Regions from separate parts of the Homo sapiens genome. Here regions 2, 3 and 4 are each linked to region 1. Evidence: promoter capture Hi-C in 16 types of primary human blood cells and fetal thymus (Javierre and others, 2016). All regions are on one chromosome and are shown on one strand. Each heading gives the region's core, a stretch centred on a gene start or on the middle of the fragment in contact. The rest is flanking DNA. Distances are from core to core; before and after follow the strand shown.

Region 1 (3,036 bases), core at 228-2,727:
CCGAGGAATGGTCAACTCCAGATCCCGCCTAGGCGCAGCCAGGGAGGGTTTCTGAGCTTCCGAAAGGCAGAAGGCTAGCTGACCAAGCCTCCCCTCCCCTTTGCCGGCAGGTTTCCACGGCTCTCCCAATAGCCTAGCCCCACAGCCCCCAACAGCCCCATCCACTCACCGGAGTGCTCACCCTGGTCCCCTTGCAGCCGCTGGATGTTTTCCCGGAGGAAGAGGAGGCGCTCCACCTGGCGCAGGAAGTCATCCAGGCCCGGATGCTCCGCGGCCGTCACTGCCTCCTGCTGGGCCGCCTCTGGCTGAGCACGGCCGCCGGGGACACCGGTCAGGTTCAGGGTCAAAGCCAGAGCGAGCAGCAACCAAGGGCCGGGCATCGCGGCGTCTGGGTTAGGGGACAGAGGGAGCCTGAGCGCACCGAATCACAGCACATCCCGCTCCATCTCCCCCGACGCCCGCCAGAAACAAACCACGCACAGTTCAACCGCCCTCCCAGAAGCAGGACCACTGCCCCTCGTGCAGGGGCGGGAGCAGCGGCGGGTTCGCCCCGGCTCTGCGTCCACACCTGTCACCTCTAGGCGTCCTCGCCCCCACGGGTGCCTGTAGTGCCTGCGCCCAGTTCTGCTTGCGCAAGGCAGGAGGCCGTAGGAACCCCATCGCCAGCGCCACCGCCACCCTTCAATGTGACGCGGAACTGGGGAAGCCAACGCTGGGACTGCCTCGCCGGGAGTGCAACCATTGAGATTGCAGCGCCAGGCACAGCCGCGACGCTAACGGTTGCGTCCCCGCCAAGACTCCCCCAAAGGTCCCCATCGCCACGTTCTAACTCCAAGCTCCGTGGCCGACGTCCTCATTCCAACGCGAAGATCCCATTTCTATCGCTAAGATTCAGGTTCTAAAGCTCAAAGTCTATTTGCAAAGCTAAGATTCTATTTCTAATGCTAAGCTTTCATGACTAAGCCAGGAATCTGATTCTAACGCTAAAATCCTAACTTCAACGCTAAAATTCTATTTCTAGCGTTGAGATTGGGATTCGAACTCCCAGGTTCTCAGGCCGACGCCCTGAATACCCAGCTCTGTCCGGCGGCACCCAGGCAGGGGGTGCCGCGGAGCTCCCACCCCGCGCTGCGGACTCTGGCGACCTGAGTGCCCAGCAGCGAGAGCCTCCGATGTGCCCGCGCCGTGCCTCCCGTCGGGTCCCCGGCCTGCGCTCGGGGAGGACCCGGGGGTGCGAGCACAGCGCCCGCCTGTGCACCGGCCCTGTTCTCCAGGAAGCTCTCAGAGAACCGAAGGTGAGGGCGGGCCGAGAGGGCTCCCTTTCCAGTGCTCCCGGACACCGTCTGCGGAAGGAGAGGGGTTGGGGCGGTTACCTGCCAGGAGTGGGCTCCACAGGATGGGTCCGGGATCCGGGGACTCGGGATCCGCAGTCGGCAGGTCAGGAGTCTGCAGCGCTGAGGACCCCGGGCGCCTGCCGAGCCCTCTTCAGATGGGCCGCCGCTTATATCTGCGCCAGGCGGCGGCTCGAGTGAGGTCAGCGGGGAGGGGTCGCGGCCGCCGGGAAGGGGCGCTGACGGCAGCCGGCCCCGCGGGACCCCGCCCGCCTGCTCCTCCGGAAATCTGGGGCGGGGACGGTGGGGACCGGAGCCGGGGCGCGGAGGCACTGGCCGCAGGATGGGGCGCCGGCGCGGGGTCGTTTCTGCACCACCTCTGGAGATCTGTTGACGAGAACACGCGTGTAGGGGGCAAAGGGAGGGACAGAGAGATTGAGAGAAGCGCACGATTAAACACAGGCGCACGAGAGAGCTAGAGGGCGAGACAAAGACCGAGATCCACACGGAGACGACGGAGAAACACAGGGCAGACACACACGAAAGGGACACGGCCGCAGAACCAATGTAGAACGCAGACGGGCGAGAGTAGAGCAAGAGAGAGAGAGAGAGAAAGAGAGAGAGAGAGAGAATGGGGGGCAAGTGGGAGCGGAGCTCTACTTTTTTTTTTTTTTTTTTTAAAGAGATGGGATCTCGCTTTGTCCCCCAGACTGGAGTGCGGTGGCGCGATCACGGCTCACTGCAGCCTTGAACTCCTGGGCTCAAGTCATCCTCCTGCCTCAGACTCCTGCGTCTCTGGGATTACAGGCGTGAGCCACCCCGCAGGCTCCAGGGTGCTAATCTTAACTGTGTCATTCCTGGCTAGTGCCTCCGTTTCTCTGGGCCTCAGTTTTCTCCTCTGTGTAATAGGAGCCAGAGGAAAGCTTTCAGAATTCCAAAAGTGGCGGCCTGTAGGCTACAACCAGTTCATGGACAATTTTGATTGACTTCCACAGTGTTTTGAAAAAAATCTGAATAACCAACATTTTAAAACCAAGATAACTTAGAAAATTTTGGATTTATGGCTTCTCTTGAAAAAGAATGGGCCCCCATTTCCTCCTGTCAACAGCCAGGTGGAGCTGAGCCTGGCTGCTCTCGGCCACCACAGTCTCCACCACTCCCTAATGTCTTCCAATGTGTTGCCCCTGTCACTGAGGAGGGACATTCGAGTCTGCAGCCCCTGCACAGGAATCTATTGGAGTTCACCCAACTCTAGCAAAGGAGGGGAGGGGAAGCAGGGAGGAGAAACACATGGGTGCCAAGGAGCTTGCCCCCCGAGTCAGTTCCCAAAGTCCCAGATGTGGGACTGCCACATCTAGCCCTGGGGACTGCCTCCATCTTGAAACTTTTTTTTTAAAACAGGGTCTCATTCTGTCACCCAGGCTGGAGTGCAGTGGTGCAATCTGACCTCACTGTAGCCTTGACCTCCCCAGTTCAAGGGATCCTCCCACCTCAGCCTCCGAAGTAGCTGGGACTACAGCCAGGCACCATAATTTTTATGGCTATTTTTTATTATTATTTCTTGTAGAGATGGAGTCTTCTTATGCTGCCCAGGCTGGTCTCGAACTCCTAGACTCTAGCAATCCTCCTCCTTGGCCTCCCAAAGTCCTGGGATTACAGGCATGAGCCGCCACACCCGGCCCATCTCTAAACATTTAACAAGCAC
Region 2 (3,036 bases), core at 263-2,762, 430 kb after region 1:
GAGCCACCCCCAGGAGTCCTCCCTCAGGTCTGTTCCCTCTCATCCCAGCCCCTCATTCGGCAGCTATTCCATGCCTGCTGTATACCAGGATGTCCAGAACAGAGCTCAGCCCCCCAAATCTGCCCCTCCTCTCTCTTCCAGGAATGCCCCATGCCCCCACTGCCCATACCTACCCAACATCCAAGCAAGAACTGGGGGCATTCTGGGCCCTTTCCTCCTCACCACACCCACTCGAGGCCTCCCCATAGGCTTTTCTCTCCATATTCTGGCCTCTCCTCTCCAACTCCCCAGCCCCAGCCTCCTCCCCACTGCCTCTTCCCCACCGCATGCATTCTCCTCGCTGTATCTCACACCCCTCACCTCCCTGCTTGAAACCGTCCATGGCTCCCTGTTCAAGATAAAAGTTGACCTAACTGAAGACCGCCTTGGAGGCCCTCCCACTGCTCCCCTAGCACTGCCCCAGCACTTCCCTCCTTCCCAGAAGGAAGATGCAGCTTCCGAGACAAGCTGCTGGTGCGCTGGCCTCTGGGCCTTAGCCCATGCCGTTTCCTCTGCCTGGGCTGCCTCTCTCCTCCCGGTCATGCAGGCTGCTCTCACTCATCCTTCAAGGCTCAAAATGCACCTTGGTTTGGACACCTCTGACTTCCCAGTTAACTCTGCCCTTTTACTTCTCGGCACCTGGACCCCCTCCCTATCTCCCTAGGTGTCTTGGCAAATAGAACACTTCCCCCGGCTGAGGCACACCCATCCTTCAGGGTCACCTCTTCTAGGAAGCTTTCCCTGACCTCCCAGAGTGGGTTAGAGGACTCCTCTGGGCTCCTCCAGCTCTGGATTACCGCCACTGAAGCACACATCACATTAGCAAACAGCAACAAGCCATGGGCCAGGCTTCCCCATCAGACCGGGAGGTCCTCGAGGGAGTGAACTGGGCCTGGTTTGCCTCGGTGCACCCTCATGTCCAGATAAACCCTGAGGTGTTTTTTGGTTGAAAATCGGAATGCCTAGCCCTGCATAAAATGCTCCTGCCCCAGTCCCTCCAACTAGCTGCCCACAGCTGCAGCCTGGCTACGGGCTACGGTCCCAGCAGGAAACGGGCTCCAGCTGGAAGGCCCTGTGGCTCTTCCCTGAGCGAGGCCGGCCCCAGCCCCCAGGCCCTACCTGGCCTTGCTACCTGTAGATCAGCTCTTCAGCCAAAAGGCAGTTGAGCTCAGCAGCTTGGTGCTGGGTGGGTGCTGGGTGAGTGCTGGGTGAGTGCTGGGTGGGTGCTGGGTAGGTGCTGGGGCCAGGCTGGGAAAGAACGAGAAGCAGGGGTGGAGCATCAAAGGCAACCCAGGGAGTGGGCTCGCAGGGATGAGGGAGGAGCTGCCTCCTCTTGCTCACCTGGCTTTTCAGATTCAGGAGACCTGGATGATCCTGCTGTGGAAGTCGAGGAGGGTGAGATGTCGCTGGTGACGCTCCCAGGAGCCATGAGACCGACAGGTGCAGCCAGCAGACCCCTCACCCGGGTGTGAGGCTGCTGGGCCTGCCCACTAGGCTTATATACCAGCAGCCCACCCCCACCACTCCAATCAGCCCTGATTGGGCTGGGAGTGCTCCAAGCTGCTGACTGGGGCTGGAGGTGTGGAATGGGGCACAGCATCCTGCCTTCTGTAGGGAGCCCCAGCTGGACTACCCACTCCTGTGTAAGCTTGGGGGTGTCGCTTGACTTCTCTGGGTCTCAGTCCCCATGGTGCAATGTTGGGAGCTGAGATGCTTGATCTCGCCTGTGCCCTCTGCCCACCAGGGGCTGGAGATGCTGATGAGGAATTGGGGTCACCTGTGTTGTCAGGGAGGCCGCTGAGGCGGCCCTCTAATCCTACCAGGTGGGCAATGGGCTGCCCCACGCCACTGCTGGCCTCAATTTCTCAAAAAGTAGCAGTTGGAGGCAGCCCAACTGCTACTTTTGCCCAGAGCACATGCCCCTCAATCAGAGTAGCCCCTTCTGAGGCCAGCCAGGCTCTCTGGGCCTATGCCCTCCTTTGGTTTTGTTTTTAAAGAAATAAATCAATAACGGAGGATGCTTCACAAAAGTCTTCATAGATAAGGACAACATCCACTGGGACAATGGACAAAGAATATAAACAGGCAATTCACCAGCCTAAAGGGTGAGGAACAGAAACAGGAAAATGGACACTCAACTTCCTTGGCATTTGAGAAAATTCAAATTGAAACAATGGTGAAATACTACTTTTTCCCATCAAATTGACAGACAAAAAAAAAAAACTTTCCAAGCAAACACCCAAGGCCTGGCTAAATCACACCCTTTCTGCAGAATATTCTGCAGCCATCTAAAATGACAAGGTGGGCTGGTGCGGTGGCTCAGGCCTGTAATCCTAGCACTTTGGGAGGCTGAGGTGGGCGGATCACCTGAGGTCAGGAGTTTGAGACCAGCCTGGCCAACATGGTAAAACTTCATCTCTACTAAAAATACAAAATTAGCTGGGCGTGGTGGTGTGCACCTGTAGTCCCAGCTACTTGGGAGGCTGAGGCAGGAGAATCACTTGAACCTGGGAGCTGGAGACTGCAGTGAACCAGGATCGAGCCATTGCACTCCAGCCTGGGCAACAAGAGCGAAACTGTGTCTCAAAAATAAGTAAATAAAAATAAAATAAAATAATATAATATAATATAAAATGACAAGATGGATTAAAACAAGGATGAGAGGCCAGGCATGGTGGCTCATACCTGTAATCCCAGAACTTCGGGAGGCTGAGGCAGGAGGATCGCTTGAGCCCAGGAGTTCAAGACCAGCCTAGGCAAAAAAGTGAAATCCTGTCTCTACCAAAAAATACAAAAATTAGCTGGGCATGGTGGTGTGCACCTGTAGTCCCAGCTACCTGGGAGGCCGAGGCAGGAGGATTGCTTGAGCCTGGGAGGTCAAGGCTGCAGGGAGCTGTGATCACACCCCTGCACTCCAGCCTGGGCTACAGAGTAAGACCCTGCCCCCCCCAAAAAAAAGGGGGAGGGAAAGAAAAGAAAACAAACAAGAATGAGGCT
Region 3 (3,036 bases), core at 218-2,717, 350 kb after region 1:
GAGGTCGCACCTCTGGCCGCGGGAGGACGAGGCGGAGCCGGAACGGAAGCGCGGACAATGGGCCCTCCGGGGCCGCTTCCGGCCTCTCTCTGCGGGGCGGGAGCACGGGAGAGCCTGGGGCCTGGCCTGGGCGGGGCTCGGGCGCCCTCCCTGGGTTGCCTTCGCAGCACCCCAGCCTGGGCCCCTCCCACCCCTGCCGGTCAGAAAGCAGGGACCCGCCCCGCCCCAGCTCTGTCCCCAGGCTAAGAACCTGGCACAGGCTGGCGAGTATGGAACTGGGTTGTTTTTAAAAACTTTTATTCATTGAGTTATAATTTACATCAGGAGAAGTGGCCTCAGATCTCAAATGTGAAGTCTGGTAAACTTTGCACGTTTATACCCTGTAAATGCTCTGAACAAGACATGGAACATTCCCAGCAACCAGAAAATTCCCTGGTGGCCCTTCCCAGTCAGTCCCTCCCCCCAGCCCCAGCCCTAGCCCTGGCAACTACCCATCTGTGTCCCGTCCTGTGGCCTGGCCTTTTCCAAACAGCATGTACATGGGATCCTGCAGCGTGGAGCCTTTCCAGCCTGGCTTGGAGATGCATCCTTGTGTCGGAGTATCAAGAGGCTGTTCCTTTTCGTTCCATTGTATGGAGGCCTCCATGTGTTTACCTCTTCACCAGCCCAGGGACACTTGGCTTGTTTCCAGATTGCAGAAATTATCAATGGAGCTGTGACAAGCATCTGTACAGGTTTTTATGGACCTGTGTTTTAATTTTATTCCAATATCTAGACGTGGGATTGCCAGGATGCACGTGTCTACATTTGACTTTTTTTTTTTTTTTTTTTTTTGAGACAGTCTCACTCTGTCTGTCCCAGGAGTGCAGTGGCGCAATCTCGGCTCACTGCAAGCTCCGCCTCCCGGGTTCATGCCATTCTCCTGCCTCAGCCTCCTGAGTAGCTGGGATTACAGGCGCCTGCCACCGCGCCCGGCTAATTTTTTTTGTATTTTTAGTAGACACAGGGTTTCACCGTGTTAGCCAGGCTGGTCTCTATCTCCTGACCTCGTGATCCGCCCGCCTCGGCCTCCCAAAGTGCTGGGATTACAGGCGTGAGCCACCGCGTCCAGCCACATTTGACTTTTTTTGAAGAAACTAGCAAAAGGTTTTACAGAGTGGCTGCACCATTTCACATTTCACCCCTGCCCCTGTGGCTCCACATCCTCACCCACACTTGGTGGTGTCAGTCTTTTCTGTCTCAGCCTTTCAAGTGGGAGTAGGGCTGTCTCAAGACAGGGTTGACTGAGCAAAGAGCGAACTCCCACCCAGCGCCTCCCAGTGGTTTCCTGCCCTTCCCTCATCCTGCTCCCAGATGGAGGTGCAGGCAGTGGTCCCAGCCCCAGCTCTACCCCACGAGTCCCCAGGTGAATGCTCCACCCCACGAGTCCCAGGACTGAGCAGGCACGCACCTTCCTATGCTCAAGTCCTCCTCAGACACTGGAGCAGGGAGGCACTGGCAGAGTCCCCAAGTCCAAAGTGATGGGCTGTGTTTCCACCTGGTCCTACCTGCTTAGCCATCTAGCCTTCTTCCCAAACAAGCAGCCTCTGGAGGAATCACTGGAAGACAGATGGGGAAGGGGGCGGTGAACACAGGTGCTGCGTGGGAAGCCGAGGGGATGGGTGGCTGCAGCCTGTGCCCCCAGCAGGTAGGCAGTCCTCATGGTTGGACCACCCACATCCACGGGCCCCCCTGGAGGCCCTGCTCTGCCTCTGAGACCCTGTGACCCTGTGTTTTGGGAGATGGGGTGGCAGTACCAAGGTGAGCCTGACTGCCTTCAGCAAACCTTTACTGTGCACCTACTGTGTGCCGGGCCCTGCTGTGGCCCTGGAGACATATCCCCTGCCCTGGTGAAGGTCCATCCAGTGAGAGAGATGGATACTAGCCCTGATTGGCACTTTGGTCAGGGAGGGCCTCTTTGGAGGGGGATATTTGAGCAGAAACCTGAGGGATAAGAAGGCGGCAGCCCTGGGGAGATCTGGAAAGGGCATGACAGGCAGAAGGCACAGCAAAAGCACCGTCCTGGACCAAGCTCAGTGAGGAGGCCAGTGCTGCTGGAGCGGAGAGCCAAAGGGAAGCCTCGATGGTGCCTCTGCCAGGGGTCCCAGCTACTCAGGAGGCTGAGGTTGGAGGATGGCTTGAGCCTAGGAAGTCGAGGCTGCAGTGAGCTGAGATCGCAACACTGCACTCCAGCCTGGGTGACAGAGTCAGACCCTGTCTCAAAAAAAAAAAAATAAAGAAGTGGAGCTGAGGATTCAGATATGCAGGAAGTGAGGGAAGATCATGTGAGGACACAGCCAGAAGGCACCATCTGCAAGCCAAGGAGAGAGGCTGCAGCAGACACCAACCCTGCAGACTCCTTGGTCTTGGACTTGGCCTTGCAGCCTCCAGAACAGCGGGAGAGGTCACGGGGCCAGGGGGAGGTTTGCTTGCTAGGCTGCCGTAACAAGAGGCCACAGACTGGATCGCTCAACAACAGAAACCTATTTCCTCTCAGTTCTGGAGGGTGCAAGTGGTACAGCCACAGCTCACTGCAGCCTTGACCTCCTGGGCTCAAGCCATCTTCCCACCTCGGTCCTCTAAGTAGCTGAGACTACGGGCAGCAGCCTCCATGCCCAGCTAACTTTTTGTAGAGATGGCGGGGCGGGTGGGGGGGGTCTCACTGTGTTGCCTAGGCTGGTCTCGAACTCCTGGGCTCAAGCGATCCTCCTGCATCAGCCTCCCAAAGTGCTAGGATCACAGGCGTGAGCCACCGCACCTGGCCCTAATCTCCTCATACCATCTCATTTTAACTTAATGAACTCTTTAAAGGCTGTCTCCAGATACAGTCTCATCCTGAGGTATTGGGGGTTTCAACATTTGAATTTGTCGGGGGCACACAGTTTGGACTAAGACAGAAGGAAGAGGAGGCCAGGGCGATTGGGATTGGGGCCTGAGCCCCGGCTGAGTGAAGGAGAGGAGAGCACCACATCTCCTTCCTCAGCCACTGAGCGCCTA
Region 4 (3,036 bases), core at 280-2,779, 330 kb after region 1:
GACAAAAAAATTAGCCGGGCATGGTGGTAGGCGCCTGTAGTCCCAGCTACTCGGGAGGCTGAGGCAGGAGAATGGCGTGAACCCAGGAAGCGGAGCTTGCAGTGAGCCGAGATGGTGTCGCTGCACTCCAGCAGCCAGGGCGACAGAGCGAGACTCTGTCTCAAAAAAAAAAAAAGAAAAGAAAAATGACCAATAAGCATACCAGAAAATTGTTCAGCCTCCTGTATAATCAGTGCATTAAGATTTAAAAAGCCAACTGTGGAACAATATATTGTCTCCCATTTATGTTGAGAATATGTATATTTGTGTAAATATATGCATGTGGATGTGTAAAAACTTTGCATTAAACTTTCCCGTTATTTTGGGAAGGGAGAGGGAGGAACAGTGGTTAAGCAGCACTTTCATGCTTGGCTTCTATAAAGTATGAATCTCTTTGAAGAAAATGTATTTGTGTATTTTTTAAATTAAATATATCAAAAACTTAAAAATAGGTCCAGTGAGAAGTGAAAAAAGAATTGATAGTGTTCCTAATGACAGATCATACTAGACCATCTTTTGCCTCCAGATTGCCTTAGAGGGGGCTCTAGACCAAGTTTGGGCCACCCCTTGAGCTTTCTTCCAGCCCTGGATTTCTAGGCTTGGGGGTCACATAGATGTCCCGCTGCCAGAAGCCCTGCGGGCTGAGAAGGAGGAGCACGTGCAGAGGTGACAGCAGCAGCTGGTACCTCCTATTTAGCCAGCAGCACTTAAGAGCCACTCTATACAAGACTGGGCTGTGGAAAAAGGAACTTAGTAGAATGAAATACATGTGGTAAAGAGGCAGAAGACGTGTGGGAGCAAAGAGGAGGAAGCAATTCTAACAGAGCAATAGGGAAAGGCTCAACGGAGGAGGCCATGGTATCTGGACTGAAAGATGGTGGCTTTATGATGAGCAGAAATAGGTGAGGGGGCATTTCTATTGGAGGTATTAGCAAAACCACAGAGGTGAAAACGGCCTAGGTGAGCAGTTCAAGCAATGGATAAGGAGCCTTAAGTGACTGGTAGGGTGCCTGAAAGAATGTGTGAGAATCATATGTGGGGGCCAAGTTGCAAGAAATCTTGAATACCACGCTAAAGGTTTACCTTGTGACTACAAGAGAAGCCATTACAGGTGTTGAAAGGTGACCCAGCCTTCTGTTTAATTACAGCCCTTTGAGAAGAAACCAGAAACCTGTTTTTCAGGTCATCCCAATCAGTTGGGTGTTTGAGGAATGGTGTCCAAGGTATTTGGTCTTTTGCCTATTGATCCTGTAAGTAGAGGCTCTTCACAGTTTTTTGATAAGTGGAAAAAGGGTGTAGGCAACTCAGAGTTCAGTTCTTTTAAAAAAAAAAAATCCCTGGGCCAGGCGCTGTGGCTCACGCCTGTAATCCCAGCACTTTGGGAGGCCGAGGCAGGCGGATCACGAGGTCAAGAGATGGAGACCATTCTGGCCAACATGGTGAAACCCCGTCACTACTAAAAGTACAAAAATTAGCTGGGCGTGGTGGCACTCACCTGTAGTCCCAGCTACTTGGGAGGCTGAGGCAGGAGAATTGCTTGAACCTGGGAGGCGGAGGTTGCAGTGAGCCGAGATCACGCCACTGCACTCCAGCCTAGCGACAGAGCAAGACTCCATCTCAAAAAAAAAAAAAAAATCCCTGTCACCTTTGGTATTACAATCCTTAAATCCCAGAGCAAGAGTACTTGACAAAATTTATTCATGCTTCTGTCTTACTGAATGTTTAAGCTGTTCAAGAGAATATTCTTTATCTGTTGAAAGAATTCAGTTCAATAGTTTTCGAGACTGTATTAAAAGGTGCAACAAATCATGATGAAAATGAATTATGTTAAATTTTGCCTAAAGCTGCTTCTGTACATATCTTAAGTTTGGCCTAAAGGTTTCTCCATACATAGGGAACTGTAACCTAGCCAGGCATAAGCAGATTGGAACCTACTCTTGTAACGAGTAGCCAAGTCTCCGCCAATCACAGCAGCCGAACTTCAGTCAACCACAGGCAGCCAACTGTTGAAATAAGGTACAAGCCCAGAATAAGTTTAACAAGAATAAGTGAGGTCTGCATACCTCACTTCAATTTTTTATACACCACTTGCCTTTTTCTGTCCATAAATGTTACTTAGCCATATGGCAGCCCCAGACTCTCACTGACCTGTCCTGGTCTTAGGGGCTGCCCAATTCATGAATCATTCTTTGTTAAATTTAACTTGTCTAAAGTTTTTATTTTAAGTATTTTATTTTATTTTATTTCATCTCATTTTATTTTGACAGAGTCTTGCTCTGTCGCCCAGGCTGGAGTGCAGTGGCACGATCTTGGCTCACTGCAACCTCCATCTCCCAGGTTCAAGTGATTCTCCTGCCTCAGCCTCCCAAGTAGCTGGGATTATAGGCCTGTGCCACCACACCGAGCTAATTTTTTGTATTTTTTAGTAGAGACGGGGTTTCACCATGTTGGCCAGGCTGGTCGCTGGTCTCGAACTCCTGACCTCAGGTGATCCACCCACCTCAGCCTCCCAAAGTGCTGGGATTATAGGCATGAACCACCGCGCCTGGCCTCTTTTAAGAATTTTAATAACCACTTTACCTTAACAGAAGGTTGTGAAGGTTATGAGGATTAAATGAAAATTGTACAGAGCCTAGCCCAGCATCTGGCAAGAGAAAGTGCTATACCATGATCTTGATTATTAGTAGACTGAGAATTCCTAGAGGACAGGCACCTGTGTCACTCATCTAACTCTCTTCAGAATATAGCACATCTCCCATTCTTACCAACGAAGAGCCCAGTAGCCAGAATTTGGGCTATCCTCAGCCAGCCCTGGCTCTTAAGTTGGTTTGGGGAACCAAAAAATCAGTATGTGTCAGAGAATGGGCTGGCCATGGGGACAAGAAAAGAATATCGTGTCCATAAGAACAAAAACTCGCAAATGGGGCCAGGCACAGTGGCTCACGCCTGTAATCTCAACACTTTGGGAGGCCAAGGCAGGTGGATTGGTTGAGGCCC

Evidence for each region. Contacts are between HindIII fragments. The CHiCAGO score rates a contact against its expected background, and 5 or more counts as called.
Region 2: a contact is called between the fragment with the promoter of H1-8 here and the fragment with the promoter of TRH in region 1, in 2 of 17 cell types (non-activated CD4 T cells and neutrophils). The highest score is 5.7, in non-activated CD4 T cells.
Region 3: a fragment that was not itself captured here is called in contact with the fragment with the promoter of TRH in region 1 in 4 of 17 cell types (non-activated CD4 T cells, naive CD4 T cells, megakaryocytes and 1 more); the score reaches 6.0 in non-activated CD4 T cells.
Region 4: a contact is called between a fragment that was not itself captured here and the fragment with the promoter of TRH in region 1, in 6 of 17 cell types (erythroblasts, M0 macrophages, activated CD4 T cells and 3 more). The highest score is 6.2, in erythroblasts.

Annotation. Positions count from the first base shown.
Region 1 is chr3:129,973,161-129,976,196 of GRCh38, reverse strand. It overlaps TRH (thyrotropin releasing hormone), which reads right to left and starts at 1,477. Exons shown (of 3, transcript NM_007117.5): 1 at 1,374-1,477; 2 at 170-388. The coding sequence starts at 380. It also overlaps the pseudogene LOC124906284. The HindIII fragment of the contact is 1,305 bases long and covers 952-2,256 here.
Region 2 is chr3:129,541,651-129,544,686 of GRCh38, reverse strand. H1-8 (H1.8 linker histone) reads right to left here and starts at 1,512. Exons shown (of 5, transcript NM_153833.3): 1 at 1,381-1,512. The coding sequence starts at 1,468. RefSeq lists an enhancer at 1,472-1,973. The HindIII fragment of the contact is 913 bases long and covers 777-1,689 here.
Region 3 is chr3:129,623,933-129,626,968 of GRCh38, reverse strand. No RefSeq gene overlaps it. Among named protein-coding and RNA genes, the nearest start is that of PLXND1, 19 kb to the right of the region's middle. RefSeq lists a silencer at 1-161 and enhancers at 1,414-2,023, 2,676-3,036. The HindIII fragment of the contact is 4,995 bases long and covers 1-3,036 here.
Region 4 is chr3:129,643,201-129,646,236 of GRCh38, reverse strand. No RefSeq gene overlaps it. Among named protein-coding and RNA genes, the nearest start is that of PLXND1, 38 kb to the right of the region's middle. The HindIII fragment of the contact is 3,721 bases long and covers 1-3,036 here.